2 separate regions of the Homo sapiens genome follow, and region 2 is linked to region 1. The links are contacts of gene promoters, found by promoter capture Hi-C in human tissues and cell types (Jung and others, 2019). All regions are on one chromosome and are shown on one strand. Each heading gives the region's core, a stretch centred on a gene start or on the middle of the fragment in contact. The rest is flanking DNA. Distances are from core to core; before and after follow the strand shown.

Region 1 (7,054 bases), core at 2,599-5,098:
GAAGTTGGCTGTGACTTGGGCCTGTCAGAAGCAGCCTGAGAGGAGGGTCGCAAGTGACCCAGACCTGGGAAGGAGGGAAAGGTTTGAATTTTGCAAAAAAAAAAGATAACTTTGCCCTTTTCGCTTGATCTTGGGGGGACAAGATGGGGGTGACGCCTCCCGAGACCGGGAGAGGAAGGCCACCTGGCGAAGCTGCAGTCCCAGCATTATCTGTATGTTAAATTGATGTTTTAAATCAGAGTTGATATCCAAGTAATTAAAGAATAACTAACAAGCACAGGGACTAGTGAGGGGCTGGGCCAGATTCTCTGCAACCCATATGGCTTCACCTACTTTCCAAACCCCCGGTTCTGTGAGGACCGAAAATGACCATCCCAGACTATTCCAGAAACAGCCTGGGGATTCTGAAAGTTTCCCAGAGCATAGGCAGTGAAAGAGAGAGAAGCTCAGCCCTTCTGGAGGGGACGGGTGGCTCAGAACAGAAGGTGGAAAGGGAGAGAAGCTCAGCCCTTCCAGAGGGGATGGGTGGCTCAGAGCAGAAGGTGGGGATGCAGTTCTGGGGGCGCCATGGCCGAGCACCACAGACCCGGGACTTGCACAACAGAAGCGGGTTTCCTCACAATTCTGAGCCGGAAGGCGGAGATAAATGCGTGGGCACGGCTGGGTTCCCCGGACGCCTCTCTCCCTGGCGCAGAGACGATGTGTTGTTCTCCCCGGGTCCGTTCCTGTGTGGGTGTCCGCGTCCCCATCAGGACACCAGTCAGATAGGAGGAGGGCCATCCAGTGACCTCACTTCACCTTAATCACCTCTGGAAAGTCCCTGTGTCCAAGCACAGTCACGTTCTGAGGTCCTGGGGGTCAGGGCTTCAACTTACGAATTTTGAGAGCATTCAAGTCAGCCCACAACAGTGGACTCTGAAATAATCTTTTAGGAACTGGACTCCTCAAGGACGCTTTAGAAAATGCCGGCCTCGTTCTGTTGCAAAGGGGTAACTGAGGAAGAGGGGCTGAATTTTCACAGGAAGACGAGCCCGGTGGCAGGAAGTGACAGTGAGAAACTGCAGCATAAAGCGGAAGCAAAGGCCGACTGTGACTATGTGGTCGCCAGCTCGCCTTCCCCGTCAAACCTTGCTGGATTTTGTGTTTCATTTTCATTGCCAAAAACATCATTCAGGTCGGGTGCAGTGGTTCATGCCTGTAACCCCAGCACTTTGGGAGGCCGAGGTGGGAGGATTACTTGAGCCCAGGAGTTCAAGACCAGCCTGGGGAACATAGCAAGACCCTGTCCCAAAAAAAAAAAAAAAAAAAAAAAAAAAAGGCCAGGTGTGGTGGCACACGCCTGTAATCCCAGCACTCTGGGAGTCTGAGGCGGGCAGATCACCTGAGGTCAGGAGTTCGAGAACAGCCTGGCCAATATGGTGAAACCCCGTCTCTACTAAAAATACAAAAATTAGCCAGCCAATCATGGTGGTGGGTGCCTGTAATCCCAGCTACTTGGGAGGCTGAGGCTGGAGAATCACTTGAACCCGGGAGGCAGAAGTTGCAGTGAGCGGAAATCACACCATTGCACTCCAGCATGGGTGACACAGCCAGACTCCGTCTAAAAAAAATTTTTAAAAAATTAGCCAGGCGTGGCGGTGCATGCCTGCAGTCCCAGATACTTGGGAGGCTGAGGCAGGAGGATCACTCGAGCCTGGGAGGTCAAGGCTGCAGTGAGCTGTGATCACACCACTGCACTCCAGCATGGGTGACAGAGCTAGATCCTGTTTCAAAAAAAAAAATAAAGTCATCATTCTCTCATGTATGTGTATATTGTTTCATTTGTTAATTAAGGTATAATTTTACATACAGTAAAACTCACCATTCTTCGTGCAGAGTTCTCACAAAAGTGTACAATTGTGTGGCATCCACCACAATCCCTGTATAGAAGAATCCCATCATCCCCGGAATTTCCCTGGACCCTTCCATAGCCCCCCAGTCCGTCACCCCCTGAATTGTTTTCTGGCACCCCGCCCCCCTTTCTTTTTGAAGTGGTTGTTTTGCAGGAAACATCACCCTCTCTCATTTTACAAATACTGCAGACAGATTTTGAAGCCCAAAGCATCATAGAGGCAGCAGATCAGGACAGGGAGGATTGAGGCGGGGAGGCTCTACCCTGACTGTAAGAAGCACTTGAGAGACCTGCAAAAAGCCAACAGGAGAGGCAGAGACTGTGGGGGCCAATTGGTACAGGTCCTGCCCTGCATGACAGGGCCAGTGGCCCCCACAGTGCTGAGGATAAAATCCAACTGCTCATCCAGGCTGCTGGAGCCTCCTGCCTTCAGGCCACCCCACTGGCCTCTTGCCCACTGTGCCCCACTGTCCAAGCTCTCGCCTGCCCTGGGAGGGGCCCCTGCAGCTTCTTGTGCCCAGGTGCACGTCCCTCTCTTTTCCCATCTGGGCGCCTGCTGACATTGTACCATGAATTTGAACACCACCCTGCAGATGACCTGGCCTCAGTCCATGAAGTTTCCCTTTCGTCTTCTGCAGGGCACCGGCCCCTAATGCCATCTGACGGTTTCCCTGCTCACAGGATCTTCCATTTGTTAGCCCCCCAGAGTGCCCAGCCCGAGTGAAGAGCATGCAGGAAACAAGCCCCTGTCCTCGTGGAGGCTACATTCCGAGAGGGGAGGTAGGCAACACACACACAAACGACTCCGTGGTATGTCATGCTGCGATGCTGGCTGTGGAGGAAAATGAAGTGAGGCCTGGTGAAAGCCAGAGGCCATGGGGCTGCCGAGGAGGAACAGGGACAGGGTAGGATTTGCTTAGAGCAGGGCAGGTCGCGTGGGACTCTGCGGGCCACTGAAAGGAACTTGGCTTTTATTCAGAGGATGTTAAAGCGTGAGTGACATCCTCTGACCTTTTATAAAAGAGGCAAGAGTCTAGGGAGCCCGGGTAGAAGTGAGGGCGTCTGGAGGAGCCACAGTGGGCTCAGGGAGTGAGCCCACGCGAGGGCGCAGAGCAACTGGACGCTCCAACAGGGCTGGTGGAAGTGCCGAACGGTGTGCATCACCTTGGAAAGCAGGCAGTTTTTAATACCATGAAGCTCGTCCAGCCCTATGATTCGCATTTCCACTCCTAGGTATCACACTCAAGAGAAGTGAAGACGCCCACAAAGGGCTCTGCAGCAGCACTGCCGGTGAGAGCTGCATCCGGGGATGCATGGACTGGCCTGTCATTCCAGCACCTTGGGAGGCCGAGGTGGGAAGCATCGCTGGAGCCCAGGAGTTCGAGACCAGCCTGAGACCTCCAGAGGTGGAGACCCCCCCCCCACCACCTCCACTAAAAACTGAAAAAGAAATTAGTTGGGTGTGGTGTGCGCCTGTAGTCCCAGCATTATCTATATGTTAAACTGATGTTTTAAATCAGAGTTGATATCCAAATAATTAAAGAATAAACAACAAGCACAGGGACTGGTGAGGGGCTGGGCCAGATTCTCTGCAACCCACATGGCTTCACCCACTTTCCAAACCCCTGGTTCCGTGAGGACCTAGAATGACCACCCCAGACTGTTCCAGAAACAGCCTGGGGATTCTGAATGTTTCCCAGAGAATCATTAGGAATTATCCCAGCGGCGCTGGAGTAAGTGGCCAACTTAAAGTTGGACGACACTGTCTGAAACAGTCGCGTAAGGGGTAAGGGTGGAAAGCCTGGTTCTCACTGCGCTGCCGGCTCCCCGCCCCGCTCCACAGCCCCGCGCCGGCGCGGGCTCCCCGGGTCCCCGCAAGCCGCCGGGGGCGGGCCGGGGCGGGCCGGGGCGGGCCCGGGCGTGGGGGGCCGAAGGAGGAAGCGCGCGGGGCGCCATAAGGAGGAAGCGGGTAGTCGACCGTGTCCGCGCGCCTGGGAGACGCTGCCTCGGCCCGGACGCGCCCGCGCCCCCGCGGCTGGAGGGTGGTGAGTGCACCCGCGCCCCTCCCGGGGTACGCGCCGAGCCCCAGCCCGTGACCCCTGCCTGCCGCCTGCCCCGGCGTGGAGCTCAGGGCCCGCCGCCCGCCCTGGGCCCGACCGCGGTGGGAGCCAGAGGAGGGGAGGCGGGGGGTCAGAGCCCCAGGCCTCAGCAGCGACCTGAGGGCCGGGTCTCTCCCGCCTCCCCTCCGCCCGGGCGCCCTCCTCGGCGCGGCCGGCAGGTCGGTGCTGAGGGTCGGGTCCGCCTCGGAGGCGGGGAAGGCTTTGTTGTGTCCTCTCCACGTGGCCTGGGGATTCAGGGGAGGGGTGCGGGGCGCGGGGAGGGGGAGGGGCCGAGGCCAGCCCCGGAGAGGAGAAAACCCGCGGGCCTGGCCGGGTGCAGGCCACCCTTGCCGGCGGATCGGAATCCCCGCCCACACCGTGGTCTTTCCAGCACCGCAGACACCTGCCGGCTCCTCCCGAGCGGAGCTCAGGGCTGACAAAGCGCGGTCAGAGCGGCCGCTTACTGGGGCTCGCCCGCTCCTTAGAGCACTGGCAATGATGTGCGGATCCTCGCTGCTGCTGCTGGGAAACTGTTGAGTGGCTGAATGACCCCAGGGGACCCTGGGAGAGCTCTGAAGCCCTCAGCCACCAAGTGGCTGGGCTGGCAAGGGTTCATTCATTCATTCAACAAATACGAATGTGCAGCGGTGCTGGGGTCATGATGGCTCGGTGGGCAGCGAGGGGCCGGGCCGGCTGGAGGAGCACAGTGCGGATTCTGTAAGTGGGCTGGGGGCTGGGCCTTCTGCGGCTGGACCGGCCTTCACCTGCAGGCAGGGTTGGGGCAGGTGAGGAGCAGATGGACCCACCCAGAGCTCTTCCACCTTCTCAGGCTTGCACCCCCTTCCTGGAGCCTTATCCACACCCTCAGTCCTCGCTCTCACTGTGGGGGAGCTGCAGAGGATGCGGTTTTTCCACATTCCATCTCCACCCACAGGAGGCTTTGAGATGGGGGGAGCTCTCCTGGGCCTGAATGTGTGCCGTCCTGGGGCCCTGCAGTCCCCTGGGAGTGATGACCGAGACCAGATTCCCTGAGCTGGGGTCTTAAGGGTGTGGGGAGCGCAGAGGGATCCTCTGGCATCAGGAGTTGAGGTAGACAGAGCTCCAGGGAGGCACTGCCGGGAGGACGACCCTGGCCAAGCCTCTGCCTGCGGCCCAGGGTGTGCGTCCCTGCCCCTTCTGCCCCTCTTGCCCAGGGAGGGAAGAGGAAATGCGGGGTCAGCAGTTCGTGGCTGGGGTTTAAAGGCAGGGATCTCCCAGGACGGGCACAGGGAGCATGAGGAAGCAGCTCGTGTCTCTGTTCATGAGATGTGAGAGTGGTGACTGAGACGAGGGGTGCAGAGACCTGCCGTGGCTGGGGCGAGGTGCTGTTAGTGCTTCTGAGGAGGTTGGGCAGGATAGACGGTGGCTGTCAGGTGGTCTCAAGGTTGTGCAGGAGCTTGCCAGAGAGGGAAGCGGGGCATGGCCCCAGGGTGGTATGGGGGATTCTAGGGGGAGGGTGCCTGGGTGGGAAGGGGTGTCGCATGCCCAGCTCAGAGGCCTTGCTTAGGGGTGCTCACAGGCTCGGCTGACGTGAGGATGCTGATCGAAGGAGCTGAGGGTCCCACTCATTTGCAAGGGGGAACTGTCTGCCCAGGAGCCCCAGCAGTGCCCAGGCCCCTGGACTGACAAGGATGGATGAGGGTGATGGAGGCGGATGGACATTTGACACTGGAGCCTGCCTTCCAGGCAGAAGGGCCGTGAGTCATCCTCTCTCCGGTGCCAAGTGGAGGGGCTGAGCAGGTCCTCGACGTGACCGAGGACTGTGCCCGTTTTTTCAGGGGACCCGGAGCGCTGGCTCTGGCTGTCAGCCCATGAGAGACCTCCCTGCAGAGCTGTGGCCTCTGGAAATGCTTCCTGTCGTTGACATCTGGTCACCATTCTCCAGCTGGGGCTGTGGAGGGCAGCACAGGCCTGGAGTGTCCCCGAGAGCAGCTGGGCGTCTGCCCCTGCCCACCCCACAGGGCCTCCCACTCACAGGGCCTAATTAGCAGCTCCATGGCTGCCATACCTGGCGGACCGCCCTCAGCGGCCACATATATCCTTGCCCCAAGCCAATGACAGGTCTGAAGAAGACACTGATGGAGCTGAAGCACAGGACAGAGACAAGCACCTGTGTGCCGGACGCTCACGGAGCACTTGATGTGTGCTGACTGGCTCACATCACGGTGGTCAGACGAGGGTAGCATCCCCATTCTCCAGATGGTGTAACTGAGGCAAGGAGAGGCTAAGTAACTTGTCCAAGGTCACACCCGAGGGAGTTGGACTTCAGGGTCTCAGCTCTGAGCATCAGGCACACTGCCCAGATTCCCCCTCCACATGTCACACCTGTTAGGCCACTGGGGGTAAGGAGCCTTTCTGTGGCCTCGCTCCCCTGTGAGCCCCTGGGAGGGAGGCAGCCCAGATTCCAAGGCAGCGAGTGACGTGTGTGGGAAAGGGGAAGCTTCCGGGGCAGGGGTTCAGAAACCTCGCAGTGGGGTTTTCCCCAAGAGCCACTGCTGGCAGGTTCCTACAGCCCCATCCAGCCCCAACACAGCCTGCCTCTTTTCCTTCCTCTTCCTCCTTTTCTCTTTCTGCCTGCGTTGGTCCAAAATGGGGAAGTTTCACATAAATGGCAAACAGGCCACAAAGCAGCTATTTCTGGAGGTGCTGCTGCCTTGCAGATTGAATTCTTGGTTGGCATTTTAGGTGTTTGTTTTCAGGATCCTTTTCTGTAGAAGAAGCCAACAACTAAGAAAAGGAGGAAGTGGCTTTGGGAGGCTGAGACGGGAGGATTGCTCGAGCCCGGGAGGTCAAGGCTATAGTGAGCTGTGATTGCACCGCCGCACTCCTTGAATCCTATCAGCTTGGCCAGGGTGGGGGTGGGAAGTGGGGTCTTAAAGGGGAAAGACCAGCCGGGCGCGGTGGCTCACGCCTGTAATCCCAGCACTTTGGGAGGCCGAGTTGGGCGGATCATGAGGTCAGGAGATCAAGACCGTCCTGACTAAGACGTTGAAACCCCGTCTCTACTAAAAATACAGAAAATTAG
Region 2 (7,054 bases), core at 3,346-5,845, 150 kb before region 1:
TGCTTTTCAGGCAGAGGCAAGATAGCTGTGACCTCCTCAGCTTTCTGCCTGCTCTGAGCTCCCTTCGTGTTGCTGAATTGGCAGCAACAAGTAGATATCAACTTCTTTTTTCACATTCCTCGTAAAACTGACTGAACCATAATCGTCTTCAGGTTTGGGAGATATTAAATATCCCCTCCAGGGTGATGGTTGCACAAGTTGGCAGATTTACTAAAAATCACTGATTGTACACTGAAAACGGGTGACTCTTATTGTCTGTAAGTTATACTGCAATCAAGTGGTATAGAAAAACATGCCCTCCAGTCCTGAGAACAGTATGTTTTTCTGGCCTGGTGGTGGTTTTTGGGGAGCCAGAAGCCCTGCTCTGAGTCCTTTGGTTTCCTGGCCGAGCCCTTCAGAGGTCCTGATGTCAGGAACTTGGTACAGCTTGTGGCTCTCACCTGGCTCCCTTCCCCTTGCTCTCTCAGGTGCTCGGCACCTAGTGTGGTTGGAATATTTACCAGGAATGAGCCAAGCCCATTTTGGTTTCTGGCCAGAGGGTAGCTCTCCAGGATCCAGAGCCCAATATCCAGTTTGTGGCTTATTCGGATCCCAGGACTCTTTCCCCCCGTTGCTATTTGGTCAATTTCATTGTTCTGTTGGCACCCAGTTTGCAGGGTGTGTTAGGCCATTGTTGTGTTGTTATAAAGAAATACCTGTTGCCAGCAGGGATGGAAGCTTACTGTGAACAGTGGGTTGAGTTGCCCTGAGGAAGGAAGGTCAGAGCACTGGAGCTATTGTGGGCATGTTACTATGTCATCCTGCAGCAATGTTTATGAAATACCTGCTGTTCTCACACTGTGGCTTGAGATGCTCTGGGGCTTCTGGTTGCAGGTCTTCTGAAATACAGGGTTGCTTAATTAAGGTCCTTTAACAAAGTACGTCCATGGTGTTTAGCACAGGTTGAATATCTCTTCTGAAATGCTTGGGATCAGATGTGTTTTGGATTTCATATTTTTTTCAGGTTTTAGAATATTTGCACTATACCTACCAGTTGAGCATCCCTAATTGGAAAATCTGCCATCAGAAATGCTCCATTGAGTGTTTCCTTTGAGTGTCCTGTTGATGCTCAAAAACATTGAGATTTTGGAATATTTCCAGTTTTGGATTTACAGATTTGAGATGCCCAACCTGTATCTATATCAAATATTTATTTAAGTTGAACAGAGTACATTGGCTTTTCCTTGCCCCAGTGAGTGGTATTTCTCAAGGCGGTATATTTAATCTGTACCTGAACTGGTCCGAGGGGTGAGATGTGCCTGATCCGCTGGCTGTGCCCTGGTGAGTTGGAGTCTGTGGAGCTTGACTGCAGACACAGAGCTCTCCAGGATTTGTGAGAGGACTGACGGTGTCCTTTGGTGGCCTTCCCATAAGGATGGTGATATGGTTTGGCTGTGTACCCACCCAAATCTCATACTGAATTGTAGCTCCCATATTCCCCACGTGTCGTGGGAGGGACCTGGTGGGAGGTAATTGAATCATGGAGGCGGTTACCTCCATGCTTTTCTTGTGATAGTGAGTTCTCTTGAGATCTGATGCTTTTATAAGGGGCTTCTCTCCCTCTTCGTGCTGCACTTCTCCTTGTTGCTGCCATGTGAAGAAGGATGTGTTTGCTTCCCCTTCCACTATGATCATAAGTTCCTTGAGTCCTCCCCAGCCGTGCTGAACTGTGAGTCAATTAAACCTCTTTCCTTTATAAATTACCCAGTCTCAGATATGTCTTTATTAGCAGCATGAGAATGGACTAACACAGATGGCTTCCCTGGAGTTAGACTTGTGTAAGCCACAGTTGGCAAGAGGGTCACAGCAGTAACACTTTCTAATATCCCTTAGGGAACACTGGGGTTTGCCCAGATTTTAGGTTTCAGTCCTTGGAGCAAGCCAAAGAATGTGTATCCCAGAGCCAGCAGGCCAATGAACAGTAGTCCTGTGCCTGTAGCAAACTAGACAAGTGCTTTAGAAAACCAAGGGGTGGGCAAAGCCCAGCTCAGGACCTGAGACTGCCACTGGGCCCCAGCAGGTACCAGAAGGTGGCCTGGGCCTTTTGGCCATCAGGTGCTGGCATCTTAGTCCAGGGTAGATGTGGAATGGAGCTGGTAGCCCCTCTGGCTCTACACTGGCTAATCTTATTGGTGCTGAATTGAGTAAAGATTAATAAGTCTTCTGTAGAAAAAAAATGTGGTAGGTTGCTGGCTTGGAGCCCAGAGCAGTTGGAATTTTGGAGCCCAGAGAGGTCATGGCAGTTGGTTTTTGGCAACTGGTCTTTGGGAGAAAAGAAACCACAGTTTTGGCTATAGTTCAATATGCTCCGGACAGGGTAGGGTCACCCCTAGGGCAAGGGGTGCATAAGTGGGGAGAAGTTGTGGGCTGTGGACTTTCAAGACCCTGCCTGAGTGTAGCTTGGGGAATTTGCAGTATTCCTTGAGCAGAAGAAAGCAAGCTTGTTACTCACTTTCTCTGAATGTTTCATTTCCAACCAAATGGATCCTCCTTCCCATGGAAGTGGTGTGGTGAGGGGTGTAGCTGGGGGAGTGATCTCAGGGGTCAGCGGGAATCAGCAGAGGGAGAGGTTTGGCTTGGAGAAGCATTTGATCCACTGATGAATCATGCCTAAGTCCCATACTCTTTTAAGCTAATTTCAAGGGAAAATACATTCCACTGAGCTGGTTTAGGGTCAGTTGTCTAGATTTATTTCTGCTTTGGAGAGAACAACTGAGATTTTCTCCATGAAAATAGTTGAAGAAAACCATGGCCTTGGAGCTAGCTAGCCCTCATTCCCCATTCCTTTCTGTGGCTTGGAACCAAGACACACTGCTTGGGTTTGAGCATGCACAGCTACCTTATTGGAGAATAAGGACCCTCCTGGAACAAGGCTGTGCTCACCAAGCCTGTGCCCTGGTGCATACACTTGAACCTGGTTTTCTTTCGTCCCGAGCCATTTGCATCTCTAAGAAGCCTGTGGGCATGAGTCTTCCCTTCAGCCATTCTAACTCTTGGGAGCTTCAACATCATAATACCAGTGACTTAGTGTCTGAAAAAGGTGAGGATCATCCTGGAATGTGAACAGAAAACAACAGTCCTGTTGTTTTCATAATTAGGAGCCATTCAGACTCCTAATATGCCTTAGGGAACTCAACTGTGGCTGCTTCCTGGTCCTTCTTACACCCCCTAAATTGTCCAACAAGTTAGTAACAAGTTAATCATCATGCAAATGCCCTTTCTCCTTTTGTGTAGTTCTGTGACATTAGATGTTATGGCCCAGGCGAGACTTCTGTTTATCTTTTTCCTTCTTTCTTGGCATCTGCCCGCATCTGTACTACGTGCAAACATGAACGTGAATTCCTCTACCTAGCCAGACCCAAACACAAACGGGTAGGCAGACCTGGACTTAATTCCAGAGCAAGTGAGGAGTGTTGAAGGGGAGGCACGCACCCAGGTGGGAGGGAACACAGGGGAAAAGGTGATTGGCTGCTTGGGGCTGGGGTGGGCGGGGTCGCTTTAGTGAGGTCCGGAATGCTGAGCTGCAGTCTCAAGTGCAGGAGGGGCGTTGTAGGCAAAGGTGAGGAGGCGGCAGAGGTGAGGAACACGTAAAAGTGTGGTGCATGCTGGGAACCTGAGAGGATGGGTTGCATCTATTAATAGTAGTGAGAGAAGTCAGCTTTTTGGGCCTTGCTGAGGGTTTGGATTGTTTCCTAGTGTCAGCAGAGGCTGAAACGGGTCACATTGGCCCTTACAAAAGACCCCTCTGGCACTCGTGGAGGATGTATTGGAGCGAGTTTAGATTAAGGGACAGCTAGCCGGGCGCGGTGGCTCATACCTGTAATCCCAGCACTTTGGGAAGCCGAGGTGGGTGGATCACTTGAGGCCAAGAGTTCGAGACTAGCCTGGCCAACATGGTGAAATCCCGTCTCTACTAAAAATATGAAAATTATCCAGGTGTGGTCGCACATGCCTGTAATCCCAGCTACTAGGGAGGCTGAGGCAGGAGAATCACTTGAACCCTGAAGATGGAGGTTGCAGTGAGCTGAGATCGCACCACTGCACTCCAGCCTGGGCAACAGAGCAAGACTCCATCACACACACAAAAGAAAAGATTAAGAGGCAGCTGTGCTAGTCCAAGCTAGTGTCAGTCAAGGGAAATGACCAAGGCCAGTCTCAAGTCTTAGTCATTTTAAGAGATACATTTGCCAAAGTTAAGGTTGCATACCCGGGAGACAGTTCTATGCCTTTCTCCGAAGATGATTTTGAGAGCTTCAGTATTTAAGGGAGAAAGAGTGGGATATTGTGAAATACACAGTTTTCATGTTGAGGGAAGGGAAAAATAGTCATTCATGCCTTTGACTCTGAATCTGCCTTTTTACATGAGATAACATAGACAATAGAGCAGAGGAAACAATCAGATATGCCTTTGTCACAGGTGGGCAGAGAGATGACTTTGAGTTCTGTCTTATGTCCCCGTACCTGTGAAGATAAGCTGTCAACTTACATTGCCATGGTGAATTTTAACAGAAATGCTTTAGGGTAAAGATCTTGGGGCCCACAAGGAATTTCCTTGTGGGCAAAATGCGAGGGAGTCATCTTTGTAGTCATCTTATTTAGGAACCAGAATGGAAGGTGGGTTTGCATGATCCCTTTCCCAGCTTGGCTTTTCCCTTTGGCTTAGTGAGTTTGGGGCCCCAAGATTTATTTTCCTTTCACACTGGGAATCTCGGGGCTTCCACCAGGATTGTGGTAGGCAGATGAACATTCTAAAGTTAGAATCAGCAGATTGGGTTGAGGAGTGGAGAACAGAGAAGGGTCTGAGATGACCCCAGATTTCCATTTGGTGGGTGGTGGGTTTGACTCCGTGTGGGGTAGACTTCCTTGGTGGGAGGCACCTGTGGATGGCTAAATGGAAATGTTTAGTAGCTTTGGATCTCTGGAGGAAGGTCAGAATGATAAAAATCAAGGGCCATCCAATTTTTTGAGAGCGGCAGATGAAAGAATTGCAGCTGAGAGACTGGAGGCCGGTGTGGAGAGTGGGCAGAAGCAGGAGACAGAGCACAGCCAGGGGAGGGCGGGTTCCAGGAAGCGCTGCAGCCAGGGAGCTAGCCAGATAAGACCGGAACGCGTCTGAGCCTGTCTCACTTGAAAGCCACCGTCACCCTCAGTGGAGTGTTGGAGACAGAGGCCAGATTGGAGAGGGAGTGAAAAGATGACCGGAAGAGGGTCATTAGGAGGGTGGGGACGGGCTGGGGGCCCCAAGACACAGCGTCAGGCTGGAGGAACCAGTGGGGTATTGTAGAAGGCAGTATTGGGGCCCCACCTATGGGTGGAGATGACGGGGCAGGTACAGCCACATCAGTCCTCACTGCGGGGACTTGCAGAAAATATGCTTTTGTCCCACCCCCATTCCACTCCCAAGGCTGGCGTTTCACGCGTGCAGCTTTCCCTCTCACTTGCCTCCTCCGTCACCGCCCAGCAAGTATGAAATGCGCAGTAACCCTTTGAGTCCTGTGTCCTCCTGCCTCAAATGAAGAAATGTTGCCTTGTCTGACACCTGGGCTTGTGGCAGCTTCGTGGCTTTCTCATGCAGATGTTAGCCATACAGGTAACTTGGAATCAGAAGTGTTATGGGTCCTTCACTCGTCTCTGGGGTAGTGGGCTGGGGCTGTTGCATAGCATTTGCTGACACTGATACCGCAGTTCTTTAGAAACCAGTTTCTTTTTATAGGGAACAGTTACACTGAAGCTATTTGGCTATTGAAACAAAGCTGCCTCCAGGTCCTGGCTCCTGACAGGCTCTCTTCTGATGGCAAGAACAGGTCCTGAGCTGGGTGTGGGGCCTGCTGGGCAGAGCCTGTGTGAGCCAGGTCCAGGGCTGGTCGTGGTCATGGAAAAAGGGCAGGTCTCCAGGGGAGCACCTCCCCCGCTGGGCAGAAGCCATCTGGACTCTCCTTGTAGGGGTCCCATTCTCTGTGACTCCCAGCCTGGTGCCACTGCCTGAAAGCACACAGTTCATTTTCATTTGATACGACTTCTGTCTCATATCCTAACTCAGTTCTGCCTGGAGAAGTTCATATACACAGCCGTTTGTTCATCAAGTGGTCCTCACTGTGCACCACCTGTTGTGGTCCAGGGACTGTTCCAGGTGCAAGGACGCAACAGTGAATAAAATGGCAAAAATCCTCACCCTTCCAGAACTTACATTGTAGCAGAAAGATGGATTGTAAGTAAATAACATTTAGAGGCTGAGTGTGGTGGCTCACACCTGTAATCCCAGTGGGAGGCCAAGGCAAGAGGATTGCTTGAAGCCCAGGAGTTCAAGACTAGCCTGGGCAACATAGGCCCTATCTCTACAAGTAAAAAACAATTAGCTATGCTTGGTGGTGTGCACCTGTGGTCCCAGCTACTCAGGAGCCTGAGGCAGGAGAATCGCCTGAGCTGAGGAAGCTGCACTGAGCTATGATTATGCCACTGCACTCCAGGCTGGGTGACAGAGTGAGCCTGTCTCAAAAAAAAAAAAAACCCACAAAAACCAAAAACATTTGGAGTATGTCAAGTTGTGGTAAGTGCTTTGGAGAAAACCAGGGAAAGAGGATGAGCAGGTTTAAACGATGTGACCAGGGAAGTCCACACTGAGAAGCTGGCATTTGAATATATGTGTCAGCTGCATTAGAAGGCTCGTGCCCTGGAAGTCAGAGCTTGTTTTCTCTGTTCACTGCTGTTATTTCTGGAGCGTAGAAGAGTCCTCGGCCCATAATAGATGCTCACTAGTATCTTTTGAGTGAACGGATCGGAGGGAAGAGCATTTTTAGACAAAAGGAGCTGCAGATGCGGAGGCTGAGGTGAGAGGGTGTCTGGTAGGTGGGGAACATGGGGAGGCCATTGCGGCCAGCAGGGATGGAGAGGCTGGCGGCAGGAAAGGAGGCAACAGAGGGAAGGCGTGTGTATGGGTGCAGGTCTGGGGGGCGCTCCATGAGGTCAGAACTGTTTTTGTAATAATACTGAGTGCTATTATGTGCTTTTCCCACCC

The links. Contacts are between HindIII fragments. The study calls those that stand out against the background at their distance.
Region 2: a fragment that was not itself captured here is called in contact with the fragment with the promoter of BID in region 1 in 2 of the 25 tissues and cell types used here (heart right ventricle and lymphoblastoid cells).

The regions. Positions count from the first base shown.
Region 1 is chr22:17,771,263-17,778,316 of GRCh38, reverse strand. BID (BH3 interacting domain death agonist) reads left to right here and starts at 3,848. Exons shown (of 6, transcript NM_001196.4): 1 at 3,848-3,936. LINC00528 (long intergenic non-protein coding RNA 528) reads right to left here and starts at 1,027. Exons shown (of 1, transcript NR_103718.1): 1 at 1-1,027. RefSeq lists enhancers at 513-992, 6,380-6,519 and silencers at 3,720-3,819, 3,840-3,889, 3,910-3,979, 4,010-4,339. The HindIII fragment of the contact is 15,001 bases long and covers 1-7,054 here.
Region 2 is chr22:17,918,569-17,925,622 of GRCh38, reverse strand. The region is part of intron 1 of MICAL3 (microtubule associated monooxygenase, calponin and LIM domain containing 3); the gene reads left to right. Among named protein-coding and RNA genes, the nearest start is that of MIR648, 59 kb to the left of the region's middle. The HindIII fragment of the contact is 5,993 bases long and covers 1,599-7,054 here.